Linked DNA regions of Homo sapiens: regions 2, 3, 4 and 5 are each linked to region 1. Evidence: promoter capture Hi-C in human tissues and cell types (Jung and others, 2019). All regions are on one chromosome and are shown on one strand. The core of a region is centred on a gene start or on the middle of the fragment in contact, and the rest is flanking DNA. Distances in the headings are between cores, read along the strand shown.

What was found. Contacts are between HindIII fragments. The study calls those that stand out against the background at their distance.
Region 2: a contact is called between a fragment that was not itself captured here and the fragment with the promoter of LRP1B in region 1, in 1 of the 25 tissues and cell types used here (dorsolateral prefrontal cortex).
Region 3: a contact is called between a fragment that was not itself captured here and the fragment with the promoter of LRP1B in region 1, in 1 of the 25 tissues and cell types used here (dorsolateral prefrontal cortex).
Region 4: a contact is called between a fragment that was not itself captured here and the fragment with the promoter of LRP1B in region 1, in 1 of the 25 tissues and cell types used here (dorsolateral prefrontal cortex).
Region 5: a fragment that was not itself captured here is called in contact with the fragment with the promoter of LRP1B in region 1 in 1 of the 25 tissues and cell types used here (dorsolateral prefrontal cortex).

What each region holds. Positions count from the first base shown.
Region 1 is chr2:142,128,974-142,133,038 of GRCh38, forward strand. It overlaps LRP1B (LDL receptor related protein 1B), which reads right to left and starts at 2,043. Exons shown (of 91, transcript NM_018557.3): 1 at 1,675-2,043. The coding sequence starts at 1,756. RefSeq lists an enhancer at 1,911-3,110. The HindIII fragment of the contact is 3,160 bases long and covers 963-4,065 here.
Region 2 is chr2:140,858,335-140,862,399 of GRCh38, forward strand. The region is part of intron 27 of LRP1B (LDL receptor related protein 1B); the gene reads right to left. Among named protein-coding and RNA genes, the nearest start is that of MIR7157, 270 kb to the left of the region's middle. The HindIII fragment of the contact is 5,102 bases long and covers 1-4,065 here.
Region 3 is chr2:140,885,141-140,889,205 of GRCh38, forward strand. It overlaps LRP1B (LDL receptor related protein 1B), which reads right to left. Exons shown (of 91, transcript NM_018557.3): 24 at 998-1,195. Among named protein-coding and RNA genes, the nearest start is that of MIR7157, 300 kb to the left of the region's middle. The HindIII fragment of the contact is 4,328 bases long and covers 1-3,932 here.
Region 4 is chr2:140,974,030-140,978,094 of GRCh38, forward strand. The region is part of intron 18 of LRP1B (LDL receptor related protein 1B); the gene reads right to left. Among named protein-coding and RNA genes, the nearest start is that of MIR7157, 390 kb to the left of the region's middle. The HindIII fragment of the contact is 6,569 bases long and covers 1-4,065 here.
Region 5 is chr2:141,055,543-141,059,607 of GRCh38, forward strand. LRP1B (LDL receptor related protein 1B) reads right to left here. Exons shown (of 91, transcript NM_018557.3): 9 at 3,341-3,512. Among named protein-coding and RNA genes, the nearest start is that of MIR7157, 470 kb to the left of the region's middle. The HindIII fragment of the contact is 5,701 bases long and covers 1-4,065 here.

The sequences.
Region 1 (4,065 bases), core at 793-3,292:
GCATTGAGAACTCAGCTTTAGATGAAGTCAAATTTCTGGAGATTGGAGACTCAATCAGGAAGAGCCCAATAGCAGTAGTCTGCCAGTACCATTATATTTTGCTAGCATACTGGGCTGAAAATCTCCATTCTGTTCATCTGCTCTGGTCCAACTTCAAACATTTTTCCTAAGAAAGGTTGAGAGCTGATTGTTCCAGATCAAAGACATCATCATTTCAAGGCGAGCTATGTGCTTCCATTTCATCAGTATAGTTTCCAACCATTCCACACCAACTTCAAGGCAAGTTGAGCAAGTTCAGAAGCTATGGTTAGGTGGCAATGATATGCTTAAAAGATTATCACCAATAAGTGTCAGATTTCCTAAAGGAACTCAGATTAGTCCCACCACTGGTAGAGGAAATAACACGTGTAGGTATGTTACAAAGGCTAGAATCTGGCTGCCAACAGCAGGTTGAATAGAAACACTGCAGTTCATTCCCCTGTTCTTTCCTATAATGAAGCAATATTTTTTGTCAATTCATAATCTGCTTCATGTAAATACAATAACTAAATCTCCCAATGCAACATTCTGCCTATTTGCTTGGCATTGGGATCTGGGTTTCTTTCTCTCTTTCTCTCTCTCTCTCTCTCTCTCTCTCTCTCTCTCTCTCTCTCTCTCTTATTTAAACTAAAAAGCTGAACTATACCAGTCAATATAAGCTCATTTTCTGATTTTAAAAAAATCTATGATACTTCTGATTTTACTTTAACCAGTTAACCATTCCAAGGCCAGGGCCAGTGCCCCAAATATTCATCTAGTATTTTCCTCCCTTTTTCACCAGTGCATCTGTTGTCAAAGATTATTAAACTCGCACAGGGATTCTTGATTTTCCAGATGAAAAGTTTATAGAATCCCGGCTTTTTCTAATTCCTACCTCCTTTCTCCTCTGCTCCCCATATCCATTCCCTTCTAAACTTCTACCATTCACCAGCTGCTTGGAGAAAAAGGAAAAGCAAAGCGCCAGACTGGAGAGAGGCACTCCAGGGGTGGGTTAGCCCCTCAGAGCACCTGGGCTGTGTCACAGACCCTCATAATCGAAAAGTCAATTTCAAGCAGGTGCGTGCGCCCGGAATCGTCCTAAAAGCCTCTCTGCTGATGACAGGACTCTGACCCCAGTCTGCCCCCAGGAAGGGGCTATAGAAACGAAAGGGGCCTGAATCGGCGCTTTCGCCGCTCCACGGACCTCGAATGCAGCAGGTAAGGAAGTTAACCTGGGAGCTAAGTTGAGGGCGGACACGCTTAACGCGGAGAACCTGGAGCTCGCAAAAGCTCGCAGTTGAGGGCCATCGCGGAGGGAAGTCTTTCGGAAATGCGAATTCTCATTCCAACATCTGCAGCGCTTAGAATTCGCGGACAGAAGCGCACAGCCAAGTGCACACACTCCCGGAGGGGACAAAATGGGGACCGGGAAACGGCCAAAGGGAAAAGCTGTGGGGGTGCCGAGGACTCAGGCACTTGGTTCAGAAATCCCGCACCGCACCTCTCACCCCCGCACAGGGCCAGCGCACGGTGGTCACCCGGTCCCGGGGAGCGGAGCTGCAAGGACTTAAGTTTCACACTCACTTATCTGCAAGCATCGCCCAGCAGGAAAGCCAAGGAAGTCAGGGGAGGGGAGCGGGGAGGTGTTCTCCTTACCTCGGTCGGCTCCCACGGTCAGCACCCTGGCAATCGGCAATAATCCCGAGAGAGTGAGTAAGGCGAGGAGAAACTCGGACATTGTGGTCGCCCGGTAAGGAAGCCTGCGCTGGAGACTGCTCGGCGGCACCTTCGGCCCGGCGGCGGCGGCGGCGGCAGGGGCCGCTTGGAGCCTGGAATCGAGCGGCGTCATTTACAAATGTCACTGGAAATTCTTCAGCTCAATGAGTCCAGCCAGTCAGCCTTCTCCTGCCTGGAGCAGGATGTGGAAGGTGGAGGGATGCGCGCGTGCGGGAGAGAGGAGGCAGAGCGTGTGTGAGCGCGAGCGAGACGCCCGTGTGTCTTGACTTTTCAATGCAGGGTACGTCTGATCTTACATCACGCAAGAGGGGCAGTGAGAGATGCCAGCGGATGGGAATTCACTGATTAATCACCGAATCCACCACACACCCCTTCGTCGTTCACATAAATCACATCTATTACTTAATAAGAGGCATTTAACACAACAGGAAAATACCACCGCGAACGGAGAGCGCCACAAATCACAATTATTTTAATCCCCTTGAAGGGAAAGTAACTCGAAGCTGGTTCTGTGGGGATTTGGGTCTTTGGAGAAGGGAGAGACTTCTGCATTGGCCTGAGCCAGCCAGGCGCCTACAATGCTCCGCAGTTCACAGCCAGCTGAGAACCCTCAGCCGAGCACAGGGCTGCTTCTGCAGGCAAAACAAAGCTTCTCCCTTCGTTCCTCGGAAGCTTCCTTCCCGGGAAGGAAGGACAAGCCAAGGAACAGAGCTTCTCTTAGGGAAATGGTTTCCTCGGCTCTACACAGAATCCCAGTACTTCCTGAATTGCACTTTTAACTTTTATGCTGAGCAGCACCTGGGGACAAAGAGGCAAAATTTAGTGACTCAGCAGAAACAGAAAGCAAAACAACCCCCAAAGTCATTAACCGTTGCGTAAGAAGGGAAGGTTAATGGAAAAGGCTATTGAGGTCCCCAGGCAGGGAACAATAAAGCAACGAATTGGCAGCGTTTTTCTCTGGGGTTCTGTCTTTAAAAGGGTACTTCGAGCCATTTTAAACAGGCTTTGAGGGTTTTGTTGTTTTTGTTTTGTGTTTTGTTTTGTTTTCCTTTTCCATATACTACAGGGGCGGTGTAAGAACTTTCCCGAGCCATCGGAGGCATCAACGGGAATCACTGGAATAATAATATTAGTAAAGTTGTTTTTATGACCACTTAAGTTTACAACATGATCATCCCAGTCCCTAAAATTTTAGTTTGCCATTACAAAGTGGCTACGGAATTAAAACTCAGAAATCTTAATAGTTGTAGACTTACTTTCTTCCTTGTAACATCAGGAATTCTCTTCTAAGAACAAGAGTTGAAAAGGTTTTATATTTAATATTTTGAAACTGGACATGAGTGGAGAGGAAAACTATGAGAAGGGAACAGAACTAAGGAAGAGAACGATTGAAAAGTGAAGGAAGATGCTTTAAAAGCTTTATTTACTTTGCTGTTTGAGACTTATAAGTGAATGCCAGCATTACTATCTACCTATTTATGAGAGTAAAATTATCCAGAAATATCTTTAGATGCTCCTTTGAAGCCATTAAAAACTGGACTAGATGAAAGAACACAGAGATGACTTTGCAGAACATTGTCAATAATCTGTGGATTTCACCTTTTTATTCTTACTCTGTGATTATAAATGTATTTTATGTCACTTTTTCCATGTTTTAAATTATAAAGTTTACTTTCCCTTGAAAATACAACCATTTTGTGTTTGAAATATGACTCCTACATTCAAAAGTGTATGCTTAATTTTTTTTTTTTTTTTTGAGACGGAGTCTCTCTCTGTTGCCCAGGCTGGATTGCAGTGGCGCGATCTCGGCCCACTGCAAGCTCCACCTCCCGGGTTCACGCCATTCTCCTGCCTCAGCCTCCGGAGTAGCTAGGACTACAGGCGCCCACGACCATGCCCGGCTAATTTTTTTGTACTTTTAGTAGAGAAGTGTATGCTTCTTTTCTTCTAAAGTTGTTACATGTCTAATTTTTCCTAGATGTTTTTATTATTTCATAATATAGTGTACAATATAGAATAAAAAGATTTTTTTACATATTTTACTTCATACTGAAAATTCACAAACTTTGAAATGAGTGGCAGAGTTTAAAGAATATGTGTGTGTGCGCGCGTGTGTGTGTGTGTGTGAGAGAGAGAGAGAGAGAGACAGAGAGAGATTTGAATGATGTGCCAAGTAATAAATGTTTCTTTCTCGAGGGTCCACAGACCTCTGTATTGTATGACAAACTTATTCACTGGGACAACGTAGCAGGTGTCTTTCTTACATGATCCCATTCAGTCAACTAGAAGGTCAGCTATTAGGAGATCTGT
Region 2 (4,065 bases), core at 926-3,425, 1.3 Mb before region 1:
GTATATAAATATATGAAATAAAGAGATGCTAGATACGAGTTAACAGTGAGGAGAACAATACAATGTATTATGTATGTATGTATGTATGTACGTGTATAACCTCTATCCTACATTATCAACTCTGCTAAAAAAATTATTTTATATATAATATATATTTTATATATATGGAGAGAGAGAGAGAGAGAGAGAGAGAGAAAGGAAAGAGAAAGAGAAATTTAATTTATATGACAAGTAGTTAGATCTTTCTTTTTCTTTTTAAGTTCCAGGGTACATGTGTAGGATGTGCAGGTTTGTTACATAGGTAAACATGTGCCATGGTGGTTTGCTGCACAGATCAACCCATCACCTAGGTTTTAAACCTAGTATCCATTAGCGATTTTTCCTGATGCTCTCTCTCCCCTATCCCCACCCCTCGACAGGCCCCAGTGTGTGTTGTTCCCCACCATGTGTCCATGTGTTCTCAATGTTCAGCTCCCACTTATAAGTGCGAATATGTGGTGTTTAGTTTTCTGTTCCTGCTTTAGTTTGCTGAGAATAATGGCTTCCAGCTCCATCCATGTCCCTGCAGAGAGCATAATCTCATTCCTTTTTATGGCTGCATAGTATTCCATGGTGTATATGTACCACATTATCTTTATCCAGCCTAGTTAGATTTTCTTTTTTTCTGAAAATACAGGGTTTCACCATGTTGCCCAGGCTGCTCTTGAACTTGTGAGCTCAAGTGATTTGCCTGCTTCGGCCTCCCAAAGTGCTGGGTTTACCAGTGTCAGCCATCGGGACTGGCCTAGATCTTAATATAGTAAATTGTGGAAGCAAATAATTTAAGCAACCTGCAAGTATTTGAGATTCACCTCCACCATGCTGCAACATGTTTTTGAGGGTATTTCTTTTTGACAAAAAAGAAAAAAAAAACCTTTTATTAATCATGTGAAAAGTATTCCCCATAATTCTAATTGAAAATATTAATAGTCCTATATGAAATCCCTCATCCTTCAGGTTTTGTAAGTGATACTTTGTCCTCTAAGGAGTGAATTAGTGAGGGAGTATCAATAATATTCTTAAAATATAACATTTTTTATTGTGAAATAAGCTTATCCTGTTTTCTTATAGATGTTGTCAAGAAAAGTTTAATTTTCTATAGACATATTTTTCTGATGCAATTGGAGGCACTTAAATCATTTCGATGTTAAACTACTTTTTGAGAAACAGCTTGCAATTTTCCTATAATGGACAGTGGGATTTTAAAAAAAATGATTTTAAAAGTTAAAGAAATAATTTATTTTATTATATTATGCTAGAAAATGTGCCAAGTGTTTTATAAGCATTATTTTATTTATTCCTCTTAATGGTAACCTTTGTTTATGAAAATAAATTGCCTGGCCGTGTGCGGTGGCTCCCGACTGTAATCCTAGCACTTTGGGAGGCCGAGGTGGGCGGATCATGAGGTCAGGAGATCGAGACCATCCTGGCTAACACGGTGAAACCCCATCTCTACTAAAAATACAAAAAAATTAGCCGAGTGTGGCGGCGGACACCTGTAGTCCCAGCTACTCGGGAGGCTGAGGCAGGAGAATGGTGTGAACCCGGGAGGCGGAGCTTGCAGTGAGCGGAGATCGCACCCCTGCACTCCAGCCTGGGTGAAAGAGCGAGACTCCATCTCAAAAAATAAATAATAAATAAAAATTAAAAAAAAATTGCCTTCATTTTGCAAAGGCTAAACTTAACTTTGAGAAGGTAAAAAAGACTCAGTCAAGATCACACAAGTATTAAAAGGAGAACAGAAAGATTCAGGTTCCAGAGTCCAGGTTTTAACTACTACAGTACACAACCTCTCTATGTGAAGCAATTCATTCTGATTTATTCACTCGTTCATTCATGGGCCAATTGATGGATGTCTTATAAAACAGGGATGTGAAATGGAGACTGAGTTAGAGTATAACTGGTATGATTACATTTGATCTAATTATTGTTGTAACTGTGGAGAAACCTCTCAATGTCTTACTCATTCTCTCTTTTTCTGGGTTTTGATTCTTTTTTAAAAGGAAGTCATATTATTATCTAAAACAGTTTGTATATTTACTAGTTGCTATGTTTTCAAAATAAAATTTAAAAGGAGCAGTTGAGTCAGTAGCCTGACTTTGAAAGTAAACTAAAATGTTCCTGCAAAAATAGTACTATTTTTATCAACAAACATTTAAGACCCCTTTAAACCAAGTTCTGTTTACATGAAAAATAAGTTTCTACAAAAAGAGAAAAACATAATTGGTGAAAATCTAACAGATAAAGGGTTTGCAGCACTCTGTAATTAAAATAACAATCACATTCTTGAAAGATTTTTTTTTTTTAATTCCAATTAGAGCAGCTAAGGAAAGAAACACAAAAGAAAACAGAAAAACCCAGGGTGGTAGATTCTTGCTGGGTTTATGAGAAAATTTAACCCTGCACCTGGAGTGGTGATGAAGAAAACACCTTTGGGCTGAGTGAGGACACAGAGAAAAATGACATGGTAGATGGGTGGTAGAGAAGAAGCATACAAAAGAAGAGTTAGATTTCACTTTCTCCATGGTTACAGACAACTCCCTTACAGGGTGGGGGAGGAGAGTTTGGCGGCAATGTGTAAAACGAAGTAAGAGAATTGTGCATCTATCTATCTATCTATCTATCTATCTATCTATCTATCTATCTATCTATCTAATTTATCTAATTTATCTATTTAAGTTATTTAACAAACACTTTTAAAGTGCTTAGTACTTGCCAGGTATCTTCTAACTGCCTAAAAGAGACTAATGTGGCCGGGCGCAGTGGCTCACGCCTGTAATCCCAGAACTTTGGGAAGCCGAGGAGGGCAGATCACCTGAGGTCAGGAGATCAATATCAGCCTAGCCAACATGGGGAAACCTCATCTCTACTAAAATTACAAAAATTAGCTGGACAAGGTGGCACGTGACTGTAATCCAAGCTACTTGGGAGGCAGAGGCTGGAGAATCGCTTGAACCTGGGAGGCGGAGGTTGCAGTGAGCCAAGATCGTGCCACTGCACTCCAGCCTGAGAGACAGAGTGAGATTCCATCTCAAAAAACAAAGAGAAAGACTGATGTATTTAATCTTTATAACAATTCCATTTTACAGATTTACAAACAAGCAAACAAACAAATACTAATGTAGAGAAACAAACTAATACTAATGCACAAGAAGTCAGGATTTGACAAATTTGGAATTTGAACCCAAGCAATCTGGCTCTAGACTAAGCTGATTGCTATGAAGGTATTTTTTTTGGAATTTACTGTTTGACTGAACAATCTAGTTCTATTTAGTAAATTATATTTTGTAGTAAAAAGAGTTGAAAGTTATACTAATAGCTAATGTCAGACCTATTTAGGATCACGAGGACATATGCAAACAAACCCACTGAAATTGCTCTCACTAAAATTATCACTGACCTTTTTCCAGGTTGCCAAATCCAATGAATGCATTTATGTCTTTATTTTTATTGGCTTTTCTACAAAAGCAAATACTGTTGGCTAGTGTTAGCTTGAAACTGTTCCTTTTGTGTGTGTGTGTGCGCATGCACACGCTTTCTCTTTTTGTCCTGAAATCTGTTGGTGCCCTTTTTCTGAGCATTCTTCTTTGCCTTCCTTTTTAGTGTTGCAGTTTCCAAGGCTCTATCATTGCCCTTTTTCATTTTCTGTAATACTCTTAAGAAATCTTATCTACATTTTGCCTTCAATCTACAATTGAATAACTATGAAAGTTCTAGTTTTAGACCAAAGCTTCCTTCCTTTTTAGCCTTAAATATTCAACTGTATCCCAGAAGTATCTCAAATTCAGCACATTTCAAAGTTTAATTTTTCAGATAATCCTTTAAGTGAAGTGTCTGCAAATGATGGCCTAAAGGCTAATACTGGCCGGTGAGCAACTTGTTTGTACGGTTGGAAAAAAAAACCAAATGAAGAATACTATTTCATGGCACATAAAACTTGTATGAAATTCAAATTTCAGTGTCCAGAAATTAAGTTTTATTGGCACACAGCCACACTTATTCATTTCCCATATGACTGCTTTCACA
Region 3 (4,065 bases), core at 519-3,018, 1.2 Mb before region 1:
ATCCTATGAATCTAAATCCATCATTTTAAATCAGTATATGACATAGGATATAAGTTTACATATCATAATTATATTATGTGCTTAAATATGACCATTTTTCAAAATTGCAAAGGTGATTTACAATGGAATTAACAATTTGACAGAGATACCTTGTCCTTGGAATGGTACATGGGTGCAACATTTCAAAAGAAATATATATTTATGTCAACGGCTTCCTTTTTTTTTTTTTTTGAGATAAAGTATTCTGTTGCCCAGGCTGGAGTACAATGAAATGATCTAGGCTCACTGCAACCTCCGCCTCCCAGGTTCACGCAATTCTCCTACCTCAGCCTCCCGAGCAGCTGGGAATACAGGCATGCACCACCACGTCCAGCTATTTTTTGTATTTATAGTAGAGATGGGGTTTCATCATATGGGCCAGGCTGGTCTGGATCTCCTGACCTCACGTGATCTGCCTGCCTCGGCCTCCCAATGTGCTGGGATTATAGGTGTGAGCCACCACACCCGGCTATTTATATCAAAGACTTTCTACTTAAGAAAGGGTTAGCTTAGCCAAAAGAGATAAGTCAAATTATGGCAAAAATATTTAGCTCATATTAGTCATCTTTGTAATACTTTCTTCATTTTTTTGAATTATGTTGAAAGATGGTAGCAAAATTAAAAAAAAAAAAAAAACAAGTTATTGTAACTCCTAAAAATGTGACTAATGGTATGTAACAACCAGTCTTTTTTTTTTTCTTGTAAATGCATTTCTTTGCCATCAGTCCATGGAAAAGTCCACAGTGGCAAATGGTGTGAACAGCACGAGCGTCACCACTTCCTGCCCCCAACAGGTGCTCACACAGATGCTCAATATCCCTGATTTTACATATATGAGGGAGGGGATAAAGGACCAAAGGTCAAAGAATAATCAAAATTTCTTCTAGTTATAACGTGTTCTTTGAATTTTCACTTAAAAAAGTAATCTAAACATTAAGAAAAATTATAATATATGTACCTCCACTTTCAGAAAGCTTTCCCCGGTATATTCTGTCTTCTACAACATCTGTCCAATAAAGTAAACTTTGATTGAAGTGAAAATCAAGTGCTATTGTGTTTCTCAATCCAGGAACAAGTAGACTATAGTCTCTTTTGTGAAGATCAATCCTTCTGATCTCATGACGAATAGAAAAGATGATGAATGCTTCAAAAGGATCTGAAATTAAATTTATTTTTAATAGGCTTATGAAAATGTAAACTCTGGTAATGAAATGCTTGGGATCAAAATATATTATTTAAAAGTATAATTTATTACATAATTCTCTGTCTTAAAACAGCAATTTCTTTTAATCCAAAATTTAACAGAAACTTGCAAAACTTAGGTTTATGTGTATTCACTAGAATAGGTATTAGGGAGTTTTTATTCCTTGGATTTACATATACCTGATACTGATTAAAGAATAGAAGAATTATTGCCACGCAAAGACAAAATGGAGGATTTTCTGTTTTTTTTTTTAGAATTTCAGCTGACAACTTAATGCTCAGAAAAGTCACCATAGAAATTGCTAAGATTTGGCTAAAACTAACTTTGCTACACTCTTAACTAACTATCCCATACTAACAGATCCATAGAGGAGAACTATCCAACAACAAAGAAAAAGAGATCTGTGAAGAAGTTGTTGGACTTATAGTTAGGGAGTGCTTCCATTAAGAGACAAGATGGCGGCTTCCTGCAGAGTCCAAAAAAATCATAACTATATCATTCCTCACTTGGTGTTTTTTAGCCTGAAACAGGCCTGGGTAGGGAGAAAGGAAAGAAGCTTTGAAAACGGATATGAGATTAAAGTTTCTTTTAGTATTATTTTTTGTGCTTAAAAGAATGTTTCAGTATCTGAAAGTTACTAAAATTATGTTATTTCAAAAATGTATCAACCCTAAACTAATTACTGTGAGACATACTGATGTATATTGTTGTGATCACTTAGATATTGCAGTTATTTATTGCACAGTATTGTTTTTGCTGTATGACATTATTGTGACAAGAGCTAACTGAAACAATATATCAAAAACAGGTACAGAATAGTTCCAAATAGCTCCCAATAAAACAAATACTCTTAAAATTTAATATCCAGGATTTAGCATTTTTAAAATAAAGAAAATGTTTGTGTTGGATGCACAGTTGTTTAAAAGAAAAATTACCTAATTTTGGATTAGCTCTTATGTTAGGTCTTTGATACAATTTGAATTAATTTTTGCATATGGTATGAGATAGGTTCAGATATCATTCAATTGCATGTGAAAATCTAGTCCTCCCAGAGCATTATTTCTTGGAAAGATGATTTTTCCTCCACTCATATTCAAACTTATTTCATACCATAGACAAAAACTAACTCAAACTGTATTATAGACTTAAATGTAAGAGCAGCAAAAATTCCAGTTCTAGTTGAACACCCCAGATAATTAAAAATGCATGTTCACACAAAAACTGGTGCATATTCATGGCAGCATTATTCATAATAACCAAAAATGGATATAATTCATATGCTCATCAACTGATGAATAAAAAAATGCTGTCTATCCACATGATAGATATATTATTCATCAATACAAAGAAAAGAATTACTTGTGTATGCTAAAACAAATGAAAACATTACACCAAGTGAAAGAAGCTAGTCATAAAACACATATTGCATGATTACATTTATATGAAATGTCCAGAATAGGCAAATCTTTAGTGGTAGAAAATAGATCAGTGGTTTCTAGGGCCGAGGGTAGGTATTAACAGGAAGTGATTGCAAATGGGCATGGGGTTTGTTTTGGGGTGATTAAAGTGCTCAAAATTAAATAGTTGTAATAGTTAAACTGAATTGTGCACTTTAAAAGAGTGAATCTTATGGTATGTAAATTATATCTCAATACATCTGTTATTTAAAAAATGTGGTAATGACTGTAAGAACTTGTAAAGGGCATAAAACTGTACAAATACTACCTTTAGCTCACTGTTAACAGTCCAGGTTCCATATATCATTAATTTTTTACTCATTTAGAGTCATTCCTATAACCCTCCTCAGATCTGAAAAATTTTCTATCTACATAAAGAAAACAAAGAATGCCAACAATTTAGTTCTGTTTCTTTTCTGTGCATTTGAGTTAGTTGAATAGAGAAACTATTATTAGAAAAATTAATGGAATAATATTTCAACTCAAAGAATTCAGAAAATAAAAATGAATTAACTCAAATTTGAAAATAATAACAAATATAACTACAGAAATTGATAAAATACAACAAAAGATATTACTAGCAAACCCAAAGCCATTTGTTTAAAAGAATAACAAAATATAGATAGATGACCTATGGCAGACTTGATTTTATATATATATACTTATACATATAAATATACATACATATATAAATTAACAACAGGAAGAGTAAAAATAGAAAATATAGAAAATAAAAAACAGATGAGTAAGATATGCATTTTAATAATACACTTGAAAATATGTAAAATAAGTCAATTCTTAGAGAAATGTGTTAGCAAAATTGACTTAAAAAGAAATAGAAGGACAGGTGCGGTGGCTCGTGCCTGTAATCCCAGCACTTTGGGAAGCCAAGGCTCGTGGATCACCTGAGGTCAGGAGTTTGAGACCAGCCTGGCCAACATGGTGAAACCCCGTCTCTACTAAAAATACAAAATTATCCAGACATGGTGGCATGTGCCTGTAATCCCAGCTACTCAGGAGGCTGAGGCAGGAGAATCACTTGAACCTGGGAGGCAGAGGTTGCAGTGAGCCTAGATCATGCCACTGCACTCCAGCCTGCGCAATAAAGTGAGTCTGTCTCAAAAAAAAAAAAAAAAAAAACTTGAAATGATATATAAGCATTACAAACATTGATTTAATAGTAAAATTATACCTTCCGATCTAATGTGAAAAAAAGTAAAACCTACAAGACTAAAAGTAATTTAACAAAGTGGTACTCAAGTTATCTACATAGACTGCTGCCAGTCCACAGACTTTGTTACTAGTCCATAGTGAAGTCACATAGTAATTGAGAATATTAAGAAAAGTTTACACCAATTAAAACAG
Region 4 (4,065 bases), core at 763-3,262, 1.2 Mb before region 1:
AACCTGTAAATCAGAAGAGTTGCTTGGACATGATGGTGTCTTTAGTTATCTCAAGAGCCAGATTGTGGACAAAGTTATTGATTCCATGTAGCTTCAGATGACAGCACAAATATCAGTGGGTAGAATACTTAGGAAGGCAGATCTTAGCTCCATGAAGAAAGAATCTTCTGACATTGCTTACTGCCCAACAGTGGAATTAATTACCCTCTGAAATGTTGAGTTATTTCTGAAAATATTTAAACAATCAGTAGGTAAGCACTTCTGGGAACAGTTTTAGAAGAATTCCTATATTGGAAAAGAGATTAAGTTACAAAGCATTTTATTCAACTACAACAGTCTCTAATTCTGTGAGAATAAGCAACTATGAGTGAATGGGACTGATATCCAACTGAAATCTACTAACACATTCTGCAACTTTGCACACACAATTTTCAGTGCTTCCGTCTCCTTATTTATACTGTGAAAACTAAAATAACTTTTATTATTCTTTCTAAATGTTCATATATTGAATAAACATGTATATGTTTGTACTAGTAGGTGTGTACAAACCTGCTTTAATAGGAGATTAGAAGGGAGAAAGGAAGAAGGAAAAGAAGAGAGACAGAGAAACAAAATGAGTCAGTTAAAAAACAAAAGCATGTAATAGTGAGATTCTTTCTTTCGCCATGGCCCTGGCCCACTTAGATCCAATACTAAGGACAAGGAGACACCAAGTATCCCCACGTTCTACAGAGAGAAACCGATATTTGGAACCATTTCATATAATAGGGGAGTACTGCACAAGTCAACCTTCTGGAGAGACCAGTGGACCAACCTGTGGAGAGATCCCCAAATGCAAGAGAAGGACAGACTCCATGAGAATCATTCATGAAATTGTGTGGTTCCTGAGAAGGCACTGATGAGATGTTTTTTCTGCAAGTGTTCTGGCCCTTTTACCTGTATCTAGAGAAGAACAAAGAACTGGAGAGTGATCGCAGGCCCAAGGGATAGGCCATTAAGAGAGCAGCCTGCTCACAACATTTGGGGAAAAAAATTAAAAAAAGTGGACTTAGCAAAGACAGCAAACCTTCTCTTGTTACGTCAGTAATGCAACCAAAAGGGCAGCCCACCAAGCAAGGGGATTCTAGCAACTTAAGGCTATGAGATATACATCCTGTGGTGAGAATGAGAAGTTATGGGGAATAAAAGAAACCTAGATCTAGATATGCAGGGAACCCTGAAGAAGGGAAAAGAAGAGAGAAGAAATGAAAAGGAGGAAGTTCAGGGAATCCTAAAGAGGGATGAGACTCAAACCTCTCTGAAGATCTCACACAGAAGCCTCTCAATAGAGTTGCATTTCTCATGTGTCAGAGGATTGTGAAATTTACAGCAGCAGAAAGGAAGTTTCCTCTAGACCTGCTTGAAAAGATGTTACTCATTTCCTCCATGTCTCCTCTCTGCCTGAAGAGCTAAAGTTATATAAGCAGGACATAGTTTCCCCCCATTCTTAGAACCTGAAGTCTGGCCAGCAATGAGGGAGGAGAAAGCTTTGACTAAGATATAATATTGGTGTTTCAAAATGGGTTGGAACAAGTTATAGAAACTAAAAGTCACCAGACTCATTGTGTGGTGCAAAGATATTATTAAGGAATGGCAAAGGAGTTGAAAGCAGTGCTGGACAATAATTATATTTCATGTCAATATTCCACTGGATTACTACTCCTCATTATATGGTTACACACATATGCAGGTTTTTTCTTAGAAAATAAAAAATATTATACTTAATCAGGAACTTTGCTTTTCTAATAATCTTGTGTAAACTATCTTTGATACAACTTACCACTGATTTAACTGGGTAAAAATTCCATTTTGATAGCTGAAACTCTTCCTTATTTCTCTATTTTTCTTTCTATTTACTTATGTATTATTTTTTTGAGGCTGGGTCTCACTCAGGTTGTCCCAGGCTGGAATGCATCATGGCTCACTGCAGCCTCAACCTCCTGGGCTCAAGTGATCATACCACCTTAGCCTCCCAAGTAACTGGGACTACAGGTACCCATCACCACCCCTGGCTAATTTTTTTGTATTTTTTGTAGAGATGGGATCTGGCCATGTTTCTCAGGCTGGTCTGGAACTTCTGGGCTCAAGTGATCCACCTACATCAGCCTGCCAAAATGCTGAGATAACAGGCATGAGCCACCATGCCCGCCTACTCTTCTCTTCCTCTCTTCTTCTCTCTTCTCCTCTCCTGTCCTGTCCTTTCCTCTCCTCTCCCTACCCCCTCCTCTACTGTCCTCTCTTTTCTCTTTTCTTGTAATTTTGTAAGATAACAAGATTACAAGAGCATTTACAAGTAAGACTACAAGTACAAGAGACAAAATCCTACTATCTACATGGTTATAAAAGATCAATATCCATAAAAATGAGTAATGTTAACTTTGCAAACTTCAGTAGATTTTTATTTCTACTCCATTGAACTATCTTTTTTTTTTTCCTTTTTTTTTTTTTTTTTTTTTGAGATGGAGTCTCACTCTTGTTGCCCAGGCTGGAGTGCAGTGGCGCGATCTCGGCTCATTGCAACCTCCACCTCCCGGGTTCAAGCTATTCTCCTGCCTCAGCCTCCTGAGTAGCTGGGATTACAGGCATGCATTACCACGCCCCACTAATTTTTTTGCTGTTTTTAGTAGAGATGGGGTTTCACCATGTTTGCCAGGTTGGTCTCAAACTCCTGACCTCAAGTGGTTCACCTACCTCAGCTTCCCAAAGTACTGGGATTACAGGTGTGAGCCACCACACCCAGCCTGAACTACCTTTCAATCTGCTAACAAACTTTAGGTAATTTCCAAAGTTGAAGGCTTCTAATGAATTAGGTACTACCAACTTACATTAAGGTACATTTATTAAAACATAATAAATATAAACTATAATGAGATACTTGGAAGACAGAACAAGCCAAAGATTGTTAAAGTTTAAAAAGAACAATCATACTTGACTATAAATTGTCTAAAGGACAAAACATGTCATTGTTTGAAACATTATCATGTTTAATCATGAAATGCCCTTATATTTAATATAGTAATTTGAGGATGGTGATATGGCTTGGCTCGTCCCCACCCAAGTCACATCTTGAATTCCCACGTGTTGTGAAAGGGACCCAGTGGGAGGTAATTGAAACATGGGGGCAGGTCTTTGCCGTGCTGTTCTCATTATAACGAATAAGTCTCATGAGATCTGAGGGTATCATTAGGGGGAGTTTCCCTGCCCAATCTCTCTGTCTCATACCACCCACCTAAGATATGACTTGCTCCTCCTTGCCTTCCATCATGATTGTGAGGCTTCTATAAATCCAGTTAAACCTCTTTCTTTTGTAAATTGTCCAGTCTACGGTATGTCTTCACCAGCAGCGTGAAAATGGACTAATACATATGGGAAGGAAATTTGTAAGGATAATTGCTTCCAACTTAAATTAATTTTGCATATATAGACATTCTTACGTTACATAGTGCACAGATGATAAAATCAAATACACATGGTACAAGGATCAGCATTAATTGAGAATTTCTTATTAGGGTGGTGCAACAGTAATTGCGTTTTTTTTTGTTGTTGTTCTCCATACTGGTAAAAACTGTAATTACTTTTGCACTGACCTAATAGAAATATAAATTCTTGGGCCCCACCTGAGACTGACTGGATCAGAGACTCTGGAAATGGGGCCCAGCACTCTGTTTTTTAACAAGCTCCTCAAAAGACTGTATGTATGTCTTGAGTTTTCAAATTTGATCACACATTTCATCATTAGGGAAGCATTAAAAATACTAATTATTGGGTCCCACTCCTAGAGATTCTATTTAATTACTCTGGAGTGAGGTATGGGCAGGTGATTTTAAAGTTCCCCTGGTAATTATTTTATTGACAACTTAAGTTGAGAACCAACGTTAGTCTTATCCTTGAAATTAAATTGACCATCCAATTCCTTGACACAAGGTCCACTTTCAACACAGGCTTCACAATTTGAATATGTCTTCTCTTGTCTGCATCACCAATTTACAAATTCTTCTTTCCACATGTGAAGACTACTAAAAAAGT
Region 5 (4,065 bases), core at 1,089-3,588, 1.1 Mb before region 1:
TAACATAACTTTTTTTTGTACTTGCTTCTCATCCTTTTTAAAAATACCAATTTCTAAAATGAATACAAAGATCCACAAAAATAATCCCAGGTTAGGTAGTTAAGCAGAGAAAGGATTTCCTTTGAAATGATTCATCATATGGGCAACCAAACTAGAGGAAATGTGATTCAGTGATTATATATACACTGTTGAGAAGTGCTGAGGCAAAATATTTTTTAAATTTTTAAGTCTATTGTCATTTTGAGACTCTTACCACAAAATGTGTGTGTGTGTGTGTGTGTGTGTGTGTGTGTGTAGTTGTCAAATGGTGGAGGCTGAGTATATGTATAGAAATTGAGGCGTAGAAGAATATTTTGTGAGCATAAAAGCTACTAAAGAAAAAAGGTAAGAAAAGTACTATATGGAGAGGATGAGAAAAGAAAGATGGATCAAAGTGAAAAGAAATAATAGGAATAATATAAGTAAGATTTTACATATTATTGTAATTATGTTTCTTTTAGATCACCCACTTGTTTGAAATGGTGATGAATATCATGGCAGTGTTCTCTTCATAATAAAACTAATATGCTTTTAAAAATTATGCCTATTATCTTTGTATTCTTCATTCTCCAAGTCAGAAGATGAGTGAAATGCAATTTTTACTAATTTTTTCCTGCCAAGAGTGTTATTGTTATTTTCCAACCTGACTCCACTTATACAATAGATCGCATCTCCTCTCAACTAATCAACAACTCTCCACTTTCTAAATCTTATCATCACTTTTGCTTTTTCCATTGGATCATGTCCATCAACATGCAAATATACCATTATTTCTACATCTAATCAAAAATCTTTTAACCCAAATTCCCACAACAATCCTTCCTTCAACTAGCTCTCCATTTCTCTGCCCTAGCTTACATCCACACTGTGCAAAGCTACCAATGATCATTTTCTACAATTCTTTTCCTTCTTCTCTCTCTCAAACCCATTCTACTCATATATTCACTTAATTCTGAAACTGCCCTTGTCAGATCCCAGTGAGCTTCATGCTGCTAAATCCTATGGTCAATTGGATTTAAGAAGCTTCATCTCAGTCTCTTCTTTTGGTTTTTCCTATTCTTTTCAGCTTATTGCTGGAGCATACCAGTGTCCATTATTTGGAATGCTTATTTCTCCATTTGTGATTACTGCCTTGGTGTTCACATCCATAGTCATGGCTTTAAATGTGACCTGTCTGTCAATGACTCCCAAATTGGTATCTCAAGCTTGGACTTCCCCCTTCAACTCCAGAGTTGTATATTTAAATATACCCTTGATATTTTCACTTTAATTTGTAATAAACATTTAAAGTAACTCATGAAAATTAAATTTGCTATCTTTGTCCTAAACTCACTCCATGCTTAGTTTCCCCATCTAAAAAGTAACTAAATTATTCCAACTCCTCTAGCTAGACCACTGTCTGATTTATACTCCACCTCTAATGTATCAGAAAATCCTATCGGCTCTATATTTGCCTATATTCTGAATTTCACTACTTCTTACCACTTTCACTGCTGGATCTTGATCCAATCCACCATCCTCTGTAACCTTCCAACCTTCTCCTCCCTACTACCTATTATCAACAGAGTAGCCATATTGGTTCTTTAAAAATGTCAGTCATACCGTGAGATTTTTCTGTTTAATGCTTTCTAAGGACTTCCCATCTCACTAAAAGTATAAGCAAAAGTTTTTTATAATAGTCTACAGAGCCCTACTTGTTATGGTCCTCCTTTGTTTCTCCAGCCTTATTTCCTACTTCTCTTTTCCTTGTTCGTTCTGCTTTAGACACACAGGTATTCTTGCCACTCCTTGAACAGTCTAGACATGTTCTCTCCTCATGGCTTTTGTGCTTGTTCATCCCACCACCTGCAATGTTGTTGCCCAGATATCTCTGATATGGTTTGTCTGTATCCCCACCCAAATCTCATCTTGAATTCCCACGTGTTGTTGGGGGGGACCCAGTAGGAGGTAATTGAATCATGGGGGCAGGTCTTTCCCATGCTGTTCTTGTGATAGCAAATAAGTCTCATGAGATCTGATGGTTTTAAAAAGGGGGGTTTTCCTGCACAAGCTCTCTGTCTGTGGCTATCCACATAAGATGTGACTTGCTCCTCCTTGCCTTCTGCTGTGATTGTGAGGTTTCCCCAGCCATGTGGAACTGTAAGTCCAATTAAACCTCTTTCTTTTGTAAATTGCCCAGTCTTGGGTACGTCTTTATCAGCAGTGTGAAAACCGATTAATACAATCCCCATGCCTTTCTCCTTCAAATACCTCAAGTCATTATTCAATGTCATCTTTTCCATGGAACTTCTTCTGACTCTTCCATATAAAATTGAAGACTGCTCCCATTTCTGACATCTTTATCCACCTTACTTTCTTGATTTTCTCTATAGCACTTATTACCTTCTAATATAATACATAATTTACTTAGTTATTTTGTATCATAGCTTCTCCACTGGAGTGTAAACTCATAAAGGCAAGACTATTTTGTCTGTTTTATTCACTGCTCTATTCACAGTATACATAGAATAGTTCCTGGAACATAGTAGATTGTCCATGAAAAATTAATGAATGAATAAATCCTAATATTAAACTCTAATAAGGCCATCTACAGAATTTTAAATTTGAGTCTGTTGTAAACATATTTGTGACAATGTACAGCCGTGATTAGATATATGTTAATGCTTAGATAATTCTAGGCTAGTTTTAATTTGAAATACAAGTATAAAATACAGTAAAAATTTTTGCTGGTGGCTTTTTATATTCTCTTTTTTTATGTATGATTGAACCTAAATTGTATTGATGAACAGCATCACTAATCTCCTGTAGAAACAACTGGTTTGTTTTTCTGAGAAAAACTGCAGCCTTCTCATTGAAAATTACTTTTTAATGAATATGTGTTAAAGAACAATTGCAATGTTAAGTTAGGAGAGCCCAATGACTATAATAAACACTGGACAGATACTTCAAGGCAGTCACCTGATTTTAAATTTGTCTACCAAAATGATATTTAAAAGGAAAAAATAATAACTTTAGCATCTGGGTTTCCTGTCTACATTCATCACGACTGAAAGCCCCTTCCTGAATCTAAATCTAGCTATCATTTCAATTCTATCATAGAAACGATTCACTAGAAACTGAACAATCTGTCATTTAGACTTGTGACGGGAGCTCTATTCCATTTAACAAGCAGACATGCCTACTTTTGCTGTCAAAGCAGAGAATTTATGACTCACTCACTTCAACACCATACAAAAGCACAAGGACTATATCCCCATTCAATCTACCATTAGGAAGGTAATAAAGAAGCTTTCCCACTTACCTGTTGGTTGAGTTCTTTTTTGATAAATTCGGATTCCCCAAGCATTCTCAATTTTAATTAATGAGTGAATATCAGTCCCATTAAATCGGTTTATCCTTACGATATTGTAGTTATCAGAATTGGTTGCATACAAATAATCTTCAAACACAGTTATACCATAAAGATGTCTAACCTATAAAGAGGGCAAAACATAACTATGATTTTTAATTATGTAGCTTGCAATTTGAAAGAAAAGCTGATTGCTATTTACTAGTATGGAAAATGGCCACAGCAGAAGAACCGCAAGGATGTTATTTACTTTTTCTCAAGGAGTTCAACATTTCCCTGATTAAAACTTTTTTTTCTGGAGAAGAAAACATTATGCAGTAGTGTTTAAAACAGTTCCAAATGTAGGGACAGAATTGTATTCATATGACATTAAGAGAGCATATTTAGTAGTTATTTTTCAAAGGCTTGTGAGAGCAAGACTTTCAAGCATATTCAATAATATGCCTGTGACACTGTTATACATAATTTGAGATATTTTAAGGGCTACTTGTTTATATAATAATGGATATTTAGAAGCTGCAAAAACATAGCTCTCCCTGTGAAAAGACTAATGAGAAAGCACCTCCGAAGATTTGTTTTATAAATTCAAAATCCAACTTTTTGGTCCCAATCTATGTTTAGACTACCACTTGCTCCAGCACAGAAAGTAATATATAAAGAAATCACATATTTGCAAT